Regions from separate parts of the Homo sapiens genome. Here regions 2 and 3 are each linked to region 1. The links are contacts of gene promoters, found by promoter capture Hi-C in human tissues and cell types (Jung and others, 2019). All regions are on one chromosome and are shown on one strand. Each heading gives the region's core, a stretch centred on a gene start or on the middle of the fragment in contact. The rest is flanking DNA. Distances are from core to core; before and after follow the strand shown.

What was found. The method cuts DNA at HindIII sites, captures the fragments that hold promoters and counts their contacts. A contact is called where the count stands out against the background at its distance.
Region 2: a contact is called between a fragment that was not itself captured here and the fragment with the promoter of EEF1D in region 1, in 1 of the 25 tissues and cell types used here (dorsolateral prefrontal cortex).
Region 3: a fragment that was not itself captured here is called in contact with the fragment with the promoter of EEF1D in region 1 in 10 of the 25 tissues and cell types used here (IMR-90 fibroblasts, aorta, dorsolateral prefrontal cortex and 7 more).

What each region holds. Positions count from the first base shown.
Region 1 is chr8:143,595,763-143,598,982 of GRCh38, forward strand. EEF1D (eukaryotic translation elongation factor 1 delta) reads right to left here and starts at 1,653. Exons shown (of 10, transcript NM_001130053.5): 1 at 1,586-1,653. TIGD5 (tigger transposable element derived 5) reads left to right here and starts at 2,069. Exons shown (of 1, transcript NM_032862.5): 1 at 2,069-3,220. The coding sequence starts at 2,142. RefSeq lists an enhancer at 301-900. The HindIII fragment of the contact is 45,525 bases long and covers 1-3,220 here.
Region 2 is chr8:143,829,255-143,832,474 of GRCh38, forward strand. LOC107986985 (a long non-coding RNA gene) reads left to right here and starts at 26. Exons shown (of 3, transcript XR_001746138.2): 1 at 26-150; 2 at 592-784; 3 at 1,455-2,677. PUF60 (poly(U) binding splicing factor 60) reads right to left here and starts at 61. Exons shown (of 12, transcript NM_078480.3): 1 at 26-61. The coding sequence starts at 49. It also overlaps a transcript of NRBP2 not described here. RefSeq lists a silencer at 1-348 and enhancers at 133-832, 153-1,352. The HindIII fragment of the contact is 6,185 bases long and covers 1-3,220 here.
Region 3 is chr8:143,778,105-143,781,324 of GRCh38, forward strand. The region is part of intron 7 of IQANK1 (IQ motif and ankyrin repeat containing 1); the gene reads left to right. Among named protein-coding and RNA genes, the nearest start is that of MIR937, 33 kb to the right of the region's middle. The HindIII fragment of the contact is 4,347 bases long and covers 1-3,220 here.

The DNA.
Region 1 (3,220 bases), core at 403-2,902:
GCAGCCCCTGTGCCTCCTGGGTGACTCCAGCACGGCACAGGCTTTCTGGAACCCCAGACAATACCCACGCCACACCTCACACGGCACCCTTGGCTGTCAGCGAGGTGGGAGAGCTGGAGACCTGTGGCAGGCTCCTACACCAGCACTTAGCATAACTCACTGCCACCAGCTTCCAACACGCTGATGTCACCTTAACACACTGGCACAGGATGATGACCCACAAATCCTCAATGCCACATTTCCTGTCCTCAGCCCCCAGAAGGCTGACGCCAGTGCACGGCACAGCCCAGGTACTCTTTGTCCATCATCAAGCACGTGTGCCCACCTGTGCTAAACCTTGCAGCCTCACCCAGCAACCCGGGAGCAAAGCCCAGAGGGCCTAGTCCTCCAGAGGAGGCGGGAGGCAGCGGGGGCTCTGTCGGCTGGGCGCTCACTCTGCCAGCACTGACTGCGTGTGAACCCTGCAGCAGCCCAGGGGAGATGCTGCTGTCTCACAGGATTGGCACTGCGCCCAGAAAGCCTCTACAGAGGCAGGTCTAGGAGCCTGGCTGGGCCTGAGGCATGTGGTGAGAAGGCGAAGGTGAGCGTCTACTTCCTCAGAGGACGCTCGGGGGCTCCTTCCACACCTGCCCAGCCCCTCAGCTGCATCCCCCACCCCCAGAACGGGGCTGGGCACACACGGGCTCCGGAAGTAACCAACTGCCTGCGAGCCAGCTGCTTAAGGCTCATGGGGTCCAGATGACGGGGTGGGCGGAGCTGTAGAAGGAGGCTGCTCAGGTGAGATGGCCTGGCCTGCCTCCCTGGGAGGTGAGCCGCAGGCAGTGTCAACTTAAGAAGCACCCCGCCCTGTCGGGCAGGGACAACCCCAAGTTTAGCTACACAGTTCTTCTGCTGCCAGGCGGTCCTTCATTCTGGAAACCAATCCTGACGTCTCATCAGGTCCCCAACCCACTCCGCCCCCTTTGCCTTCTTCCTTCCACTTAAAGCCTCTGAAAGTACTACTTCTTAGCAACAGCATCCCCGCCCCCTTCAGAGACTGCCCGACCACCCTATCCAAATCAAGAGACAGAAATTTTGACCCAGTCACAGTACAGGCTTATTCCTTTCCGTGCTCACTAGCGTCTAAGTTCCAAAAGTGTTGCGTCCGTGCCTATCCCCTCCGTGCTCAGCTGATGCGTGCAGTAACTGGTGCTTGACAAAGACGTGGTGTACGAAGGTCTGCAGGCCAGAGAAACAGCTGGGGCAGATGTCTGGTCTCCCACGGAGACGGCAGCAAACACAGGCCTTAGGCCCCAGCAGCCTGGCCGAGGGGCTTCCACGACCGGGATGCGCCGTGAGACAGTGCTCCCGGCGCCCCCGTCCCGCGGACGCCCTCCAAGCCGGCCACGTGGCCTCCGTCGCCCCGCCTCTCTGCGCTCGCCCCAAGTGCCGCACTTGGCCCACGGCCCCTAAGCCCGCGCTGGCGCACTTGTGCCTCAGTCCCTAACGGCGCGAGCTTCTGGCGCAGCCCGGGCCGCCCGCCCTCCCGGCCCCTCGGGCGTCTCTGTCGCGCCCGACTCCTTCCGGCGGGGGCCGCGGTACTCACACGCCAGCCAAGGACGCGGCGACCAAGGAGGAGGAATCGGCGGACGCGGGAAGACTGATGAAAGGGAGGGCCGCCCGGGCCGCGCACGGGAAATGAAGCACTGGGCTCTACCAAGAGCCACGGGCCGGGGGCCCGGGGGGGGGACGCGACCCTTGCACACGCCCCGCCTGGCCGCCAGGACCCTCGACGCGCCGTGCCCCGACACTTCAAAGGCAGAATTCCGTTGGAGATGACCGCGGAGGCCGCTCTTCCCCGGAGGAGTCTGCACAAGTGCTGGGAACGGGCGGCAGCGCGCGCGCCCCCCCTGCGCTTCGCGGCCAGTGGTGTCGCCGGTGGGGGCGGGTCCGGCAGCCGGCAAGCGCCGAGTGACGCACGAGGCGGCCAGCGCGCAGGCGCGGGGCGGGGCCGGGCCGGGCTAGGTCAGCGCGCGTGCGCCCGCCAAGCTGCGGGACAAAGGGGAGGGACCCGTGCGGCCCCGCCCCCGAGTGCCCCGCCCCGAGCGGCTGGGCGTGTGGCTCCCGCGACCCGCGCGGCCCGGGTCCCCCCCGCCGCAGCCATGTACCCCGCGGGCCCCCCGGCCGGCCCGGTACCGCGCCGCGGCCGCCGTCCCCTGCCCGGGCCCCCCGCGCCCGCCCCAGCCCCCGTCCCCGCTGCACGGCCGCCGCCCCCCGCGCCCGGGCCGCGGCCCCGCGTGGCCGTGAAGATGGCCTTCCGCAAGGCCTACTCCATCAAGGACAAGCTGCAGGCCATCGAGCGCGTCAAGGGCGGCGAGCGGCAGGCCAGTGTGTGCCGCGACTTCGGCGTGCCGGGCGGGACGCTGCGCGGCTGGCTCAAGGACGAGCCCAAGCTGCGCTGGTTCCTGGAGCAGCTGGGCGGTGAGGTGGGCACTCAGCGCAAGAAGATGCGGCTGGCCAACGAGGAGGAGATCGACCGCGCCGTGTACGCCTGGTTCCTGGCGCTGCGCCAGCACGGGGTGCCGCTGTCTGGCCCGCTCATCCAGGCGCAGGCCGAGGCCTTCGCGCGCCAGATCTACGGGCCCGAGTGCACCTTCAAGGCCAGCCACGGCTGGTTCTGGCGCTGGCAGAAGCGCCACGGCATCTCCAGCCAGCGCTTCTACGGCGAGGCCGGGCCCCCAGCCCCGAGCCCCGCGCCCGGCCCGCCCGTCAAGGAGGAGCCCGCGCTGCCCTCCGGCGCCGGCCCCCTGCCCGACCGCGCCCCGGCCCCGCCGCCCCCGGCCGAGGGCGGCTACGGGGACGAGCAGATTTACAGCGCCAGCGTCACCGGCCTCTACTGGAAGCTGCTTCCGGAGCAGGCTGCGCCCCCGGGCGCAGGGGACCCCGGGGCGGGGGGCTGTGGCCGGCGCTGGCGGGGCGACCGCGTAACGGTGCTGCTGGCCGCAAACCTGACCGGCAGCCACAAGCTGAAGCCGCTGGTCATCGGGCGGCTGCCGGACCCGCCCAGCCTGCGCCACCACAACCAGGACAAGTTCCCGGCCTCCTACCGCTACAGCCCCGACGCCTGGCTCAGCCGCCCGCTGCTGCGGGGCTGGTTCTTTGAGGAATTTGTCCCAGGCGTCAAACGCTACCTGCGCCGAAGCTGCCTGCAGCAGAAGGCCGTGCTGCTGGTGGCCCACCC
Region 2 (3,220 bases), core at 539-3,038, 230 kb after region 1:
CGCGCTCATGGGGGGGCTCACTTACGAGAGCTATGGTCGCCGTCGCCATCTTGCGTCCGTCGCGGCCTCCGCGCGCGCCTCCCACTCTTGCTCCTTCCGCTGTCTCGCGCGATCTGGGTGCCGGTGCACGGAACTCTCGCGAGGAAGGAGGTAAGAACGCGCTTCCGGGGCGGGGAGGAACGGTAAACGCCCCCGGGAGGGGCGACGGAAGGGGCGTGCTCTTGGCCGGGCGAGGGGCGTGGCCCGCGCACCTCGGGCGTCTAGGGGCGTGCGCCGCGGGACTCGAGTCGGGCGTATCTCTCCGCGTGGCCGACGCGGGCGTGCGTAGTACCCTTCGCCGCCCGTCGCCCTTGCGGCCACTGCTACGCTTCTCTTCTCTGCCTTTTTTGGAGAAAACGCTGTCGCGTGCGTCGTCCAGAGGCTCTCCCCCAGGAGGCAGGCGAAAGAGCGGGGCCCTCCTGGGCTGGAGGAGTCTCGGGTGATGAAAGGCCCGCGTGTTTCAGGCTGACGTCGTGAGATGCGTCGTCCCCGCGTCGCGACATCCCTGGGACCGGGAGGCCCCGTTCAATTGGCAGCTTTTTCTCCTTCCAGGGAACCGATGACCCTAGGTTGGCTGACATCAGTCGCTAGACCCGCAGCCCGCAGGCCCCGTTAGTCCCTGAACTGGCTTTCATGGCCCAAGGTGTCTGTCAGTACTGCTGGGAAAGCTGCCTGTCCTGGACATTTGCCATCTGCTGCACCCAGTCCCGAGACCCCAACTCGGTCATCCGAAGAAGCCACATCTGTAAGCTCAGGCACCTTCAGCTGCCTAAGGCCACAAGGCATCCCGGGCAGGCCTCCTTTCAACCCTGGGAACATTTAGAATTTAATACAGACACTTCTACTTAAATAGGGCAGAATATTCCCCGCCTCCCTCCTGAAACCTTCCAAAATTATAGGAAAGGGGTTTTATAAAGACAAACCCTGCAAGGGCAAAGAGCTGGGATATTGCAGAGCTTAAGAAAGGTGGACAGCGAGAGCTACTCCAGCCCACTTGGCTATGGAGGCCAGTGTCTGAGGGTCGTGGGTGAAAGCACAGCTACAGAAAGGAAACCCCAGACCTCTGTCCCTACCCACCGGGGCTGGCAGGCACTGCAGTGTCTGAGACGTGAGCTCCAGGAGAGGAGCTCTGAGGCCCTGCTCAAGCAAGGCCCTGTCTGAAAGCCTGGGAGTAAGTGAGACTCTGGGTCCTACCCCTGCCTCCACCCCTGGGCTGGGTCTGACCACCCGCATGCCATCAGGCTTCTCAGAGAAGAGGGCTCCTCTCTGCAGCAGCTCCTAGCTCAAAAGAAAAGACTGGCAGGGCACCTAGGGGTAGAGTGTTGCCCAGTAGAATGGCCCAGCCAGATCCCTGGCCTCGAAGCTCACCAGGTCATAAGCCCCAGCCACTAAAAGCATCTCACTCTTCAATGCAGCTGGACAGCCCAGGATCACCAGACACCTGAGAAAGAAGAAAAGGGACTCAGAAGAAACAGAGACGATAAAGGAAGCCGAAGAAAAATGAAAACTAAAATGCCATTCTCAGTCAATAAAAAGGAACTGGGGGCTATAGAGAAAGAAACCTCGGGATGAGAAAGAGCTCTTAGAAATAAAACATGAGGGGAAAGTGAGCAATTCAATAGGCTTTTAAGATGAAGTCTTCCAGAATGTATAATGACAGAACCAGATAGCTGGAAAACAGAATAGCAGTAACACAGGTGGGTGCTCTTAGGGCTAGCCTGGCACACAAGGCCTCCACAATGGAGGGGGTGGATGGGAGGTGGGGGGCTGGTCTGCCACCACCACCAGGGGAAGCCACAGGCACCACCCTCTGGGGACAGCTTCCCTTGGCAATAATGTGCACGCAGGATGCATGGTGCCCAGGACTGTTCTTACACACATTCATTCATGGGATCCTCACAACCCAGTGCTATGCAATGGATACAGCTGTTACCCCATTTTTACTGATGGGCAACATCACAAGGCAGGGAGCAGCAGTAGAATGGCTCCAGAGCCTGTGTTCTTGCCACCACCATGACTGCATCTCAAAAGAGAAGTCCAGGTCAGGCACAGTGGCTCATGCCTGCCTTCCCAGCACTTCAGGAGGCTGAGGCAGGAGTATCACTTGGGCCCAGGGGTTCAAGACCAGCTTGGGCAATATAGTGAGGCCACGTCTCTACAAAAAGTAATTTTAAAAAACCAGCTGGGCATGGTGGCACACGCCTGTAGTCCTAGCTACTAGAGAGGCTAAGGTGGGAGGATTGCTGGAGCCCAGAAGGTGGAGGTTGCAGTGCCCTGTGATCACACCACTGCACTCCAGCCTGGGTGACAGAGCCAGACCCTGTCTCAAAAAAACAACAAAAACTCAACAGAAGTCCAACATCTAAATAAATTGTCCAGAAAATAAGGAAATGAGAGAAATCAGCAGAGATAAATCAAGAAAATTTCCTAGAACCAAACAGTCATGTTTTCTGAACAATGGGTGAAAGGGAAGTTGTATATCAAGACACATCATTGAGAATTACCCAAGTAATGGGGCAAAGAAAAAGAAGAGATCATAGGTAAAGAGTCAGAATTCAGGAAGGCACAAGAGTTCTTGGAACTAGAAGAAAATGACACAATACCCTTGAAATCCTGGGAATAAATGATTTTCAACCAAGCCAAGCTTTTTGTAGCTAGTCGCACTGTTAAGCATATGTGAGGTTAGCATAAAGACTGTGGGGAAAAGCAAGAGAGATCAGATTGTTACTGTGTCTGTGTAGAAAGTAGTAGACATAGGAGACTCCATTTTGTTTTGTACTAAGGAAAATTCTTCTGCCTTGAGACTCTGTTAATCTATGACCTTACCCCCAACCCCGTGCTCTCTGAAACATGTGCTGTGTCAACTCAGAGTTGAATGGATTAAGGGCGGTGCAAGATGTGCTTTGTTAAACAGATGCTTGAAGGCAGCATGCTCCTTAAGAGTCATCACCACTCCCTAATCTCAAGTACCCAGGGACACAAAAACTGCGGAAGGCCGCAGGGACCTCTGCCTAGGAAAGCCAGGTATTGTCCAAGGTTTCTCCCCATGTGATAGTCTGAAATATGGCCTCGTGGGATGGGAAAGACCTGACCGTCCCCCAGCCCGACACCCGTAAAGGGTCTGTGCTGAGGAGGATTAGTAAAAGAGGAAGGAATGCCTCTTGCAGTTGAGACAAGAGGA
Region 3 (3,220 bases), core at 215-2,714, 180 kb after region 1:
GAATGGCGTGAACCCAGGAGGCGGAGCTTGCAGTGAGCCAAGATCGCACCACTGCACTCCAGCCTGGGTGACAGAGTAAGACTCCGTCTCAAAACAAAAAAAAAAAAGATGGATTGTCATTTTGGATTAAAAATTGTAGCTAACTATGTTCTACCTATAAGAAACAAGCTTTAAATGTAAAAGCACAAATAGTTGAAAATTAAAATGATAAAAACAAATATGCCAAGATAACACTAAACAGGATGCTGAAGTAACTGTATTAACATCAAGTAGATTTCAGAAAAAAGTATGTTACTAAGGATAAAAGAATCATTTAGTAATGACAAATGTAGGAATTCATCATGAGGACATAAAAATCCTAAATGTTCATGCAGCTACTAACAGGGTTTCAAAATGCATGAAGCAAAAACTATGAGAACTACAAGGAGAAATAAAGAGATCCACAATGGTAATAGGCGATTTTGCCATCTCTCTCTCCCCATAATTGATGAGACAAGTAGACGGAATATCAGCGATGATACCGAAGAGCTGAACCACGCTGTCCATCACCATCCCTTCATCATTCATCAGTCATCGTTTCCATACATTCACCCACTTCATCCATCTCGCCCCAGTATTGGTTTGCGCTTTCGCCAATTCATAATTATCTTATTAACTTGAGTCATTTATTTATTTATTTAGAGATGGAGTCTTGCTCTGTCACCCAGGCTGGAGGGCAGTGGCGCAATCTCACTGCAACCTCTGCCTCCCGGGTTTATGCGGTTCTCCTGCCTCAGCCTCCAGAGTAGCTGGGACTACAGGCATGCGCCACCACGCCCAGCTAATTTGTTCTTTTGTATGTTAAGTAGAGATGGGGTTTTGCCATGTTGGCCAGCTGGTTTCGAACTCCTGACCTCAGGTGGGCTGCCTGCCTCGGCCTCCCAAAGTGCTGGGATTACAGGTGTGAGCCACCATGCCCAGCCATGAGTCATTTATTTATAAACTTATAAATAAATTTATAAGCTTATATATAAATTTATGAACTTATAAACATATATAAATTTATAAACTTATAAGCTATCCACTCATTAATGTGCCCATTCCACCCTTACACCATGTTTAAATAATTATTCACTTATTTTTTATCTACTATTCATTCAGACATCCATTCATCCATTCATACACGCATTCATGCTGTTTACTTGACAGAAAATTATGAGAAAGCAAAGAAGGACTGTGTCTCGTTCACCCCTTAATCGTATGCCCCAGTATTGGTTGACCACGATAGGCACTGAAACATTTTGTTGAACGATGAATTCATCCATCAATTCATCCATCCAGTTGCTCAACTAACCATTTGCTTATCTCACGTATCCATTCTTTACACTCATTCATCTATTAATTTTTCATGTATCAGTTCATCATTTAATCAGTTCATTCAATTAATCTAATCTTCATTCTCTTATAGTTTAATTCATTAATTTACTCATTCATTCATCATTTATTGCCTATTCATTAAGACACTCGTAAGTTTACTCGTTATATTATCCTTTTATTTTCTGTCTTCATTCATTTTCCGTCTACTCCAGTTCTTCCACTTACAGACAGAACTTTGGCAAGTTCTGAAGCTTATTTGAATCTGTTTCCATATATTCAGAAATGGGACTAATAACAGCTTTTTGAAGATTCATGAGATAGTGAATGAAATTCCTTGGCACAATTCCTGGTGCAAAGTCAGTTCTCAAGAAATGGTAGCTATTATTATTTTAAATGAGTATCACAATTTCTTTTAAGTTACAAAATCATTGCCTCATTCGTATGTCTGTTCACTCTTCCATCCTATTTATCTAGTTATCCATTCATCCCTTCTCTCATTTTAGCTACTCCTTGATTTTATACATCTTCAGACTTTCCTTTTTAATTACAAATGACATACAGAATATTGCAGAAATCAAAGTTGTGGCTCAATTATTTACCACAAAGGAAATACTCATGTAGTAACTACCTGACTCAAGAAATAAAGTATCGCCAGAACACCACACCTCTCCCCAGATCATCATATCCTGAATTTTATAGTGCTTGCTTCCTTCTTTTTTTCAAGTTACAAAACTTTCCTGAAATATGTATAAAGTTCCCAGTTTAATCCTCTCAACAAACCTGATTGTAGTATTATTAATATTCCTACATTATATACAAAGACTTTATTATATACAAAGAAACTTAAGCACAGAGATGTTAAGTCATCTTTTTTTAACTTTTCTTTTAGGTTTGGGGGTACATGTGAAGGTTTGTTATGCAGGTGACATAGTCATGGGGATTTGTCGTACAGATTATTTCCTCACCAGGAACTAAGCCCAGTACCCAATAGTTTTCTGCTCCCCTCCCTCCTCCCACCCTCCACCCTCAAGTAGATCCTAGTATCTGTTGTTTCCTTCTTTGTGTTCCTAAGTTCTCATCCTTTAGCTCCCGTTTACAGGTGAGAACATGTGGTGTTTGGTTTTCTGTTCCTGCGATAGTTTGCTGAGGATAATGGCCTCCAGCTCCATCCATGTTCCTGCAAAGGACATGATCTCATTCTTTTTTTATGGCTGCATAGTATTCCACGGTGTGCATGTACCACATTTTCTTTATCTTGTCTGTCACTGATGGGCATTTAGGTTGAGTCCATGTCTTTGCTATTGTGAATAGTGCTGCAGTCAACATATGCGTGCATGTGTCTTTATGGTACACTGCTTTATATTCCTCTGGGTATATACCCAGTAATGGGATTGCTGGGTCCAATGGTAGTTCTGCTTTTAGGTCTTTGAGGAATTCCCATACTGCTTTCCACAGTGGCTGAACTAATTTATACTCCCACCAACAGTGTGTGTGTGTTCCCTTTTCTCCACAACCTCACCAGCATCTGTTATTTTTTGACTTTTTATAGTAGCCATTCTGGCTGGTATGAGATGGTGTATCCTCATTGTGGTTTTGATTTGCATTTCTCTGATGATCAGTGATATTGAGCTTTTTTTCATATGCTTGCTGGCCACATGCATGTCTTATTTTGAAAAGTGTCTGTTCATTTTCTTTGTTCACTTTTTAATGGGGTTTTCTCTTGTAAGTTTGTATAAGATCCTTATAAATGCTGGATGTTAGACTTCTGTCAGATGCATAGTTTGCAGATATGCTCTCCCATTCTGTAGGTGGTCTGTTTACTTTGCTGATAGTTTCTTTTGCTATGCAGAAGCTCTCATGTTTA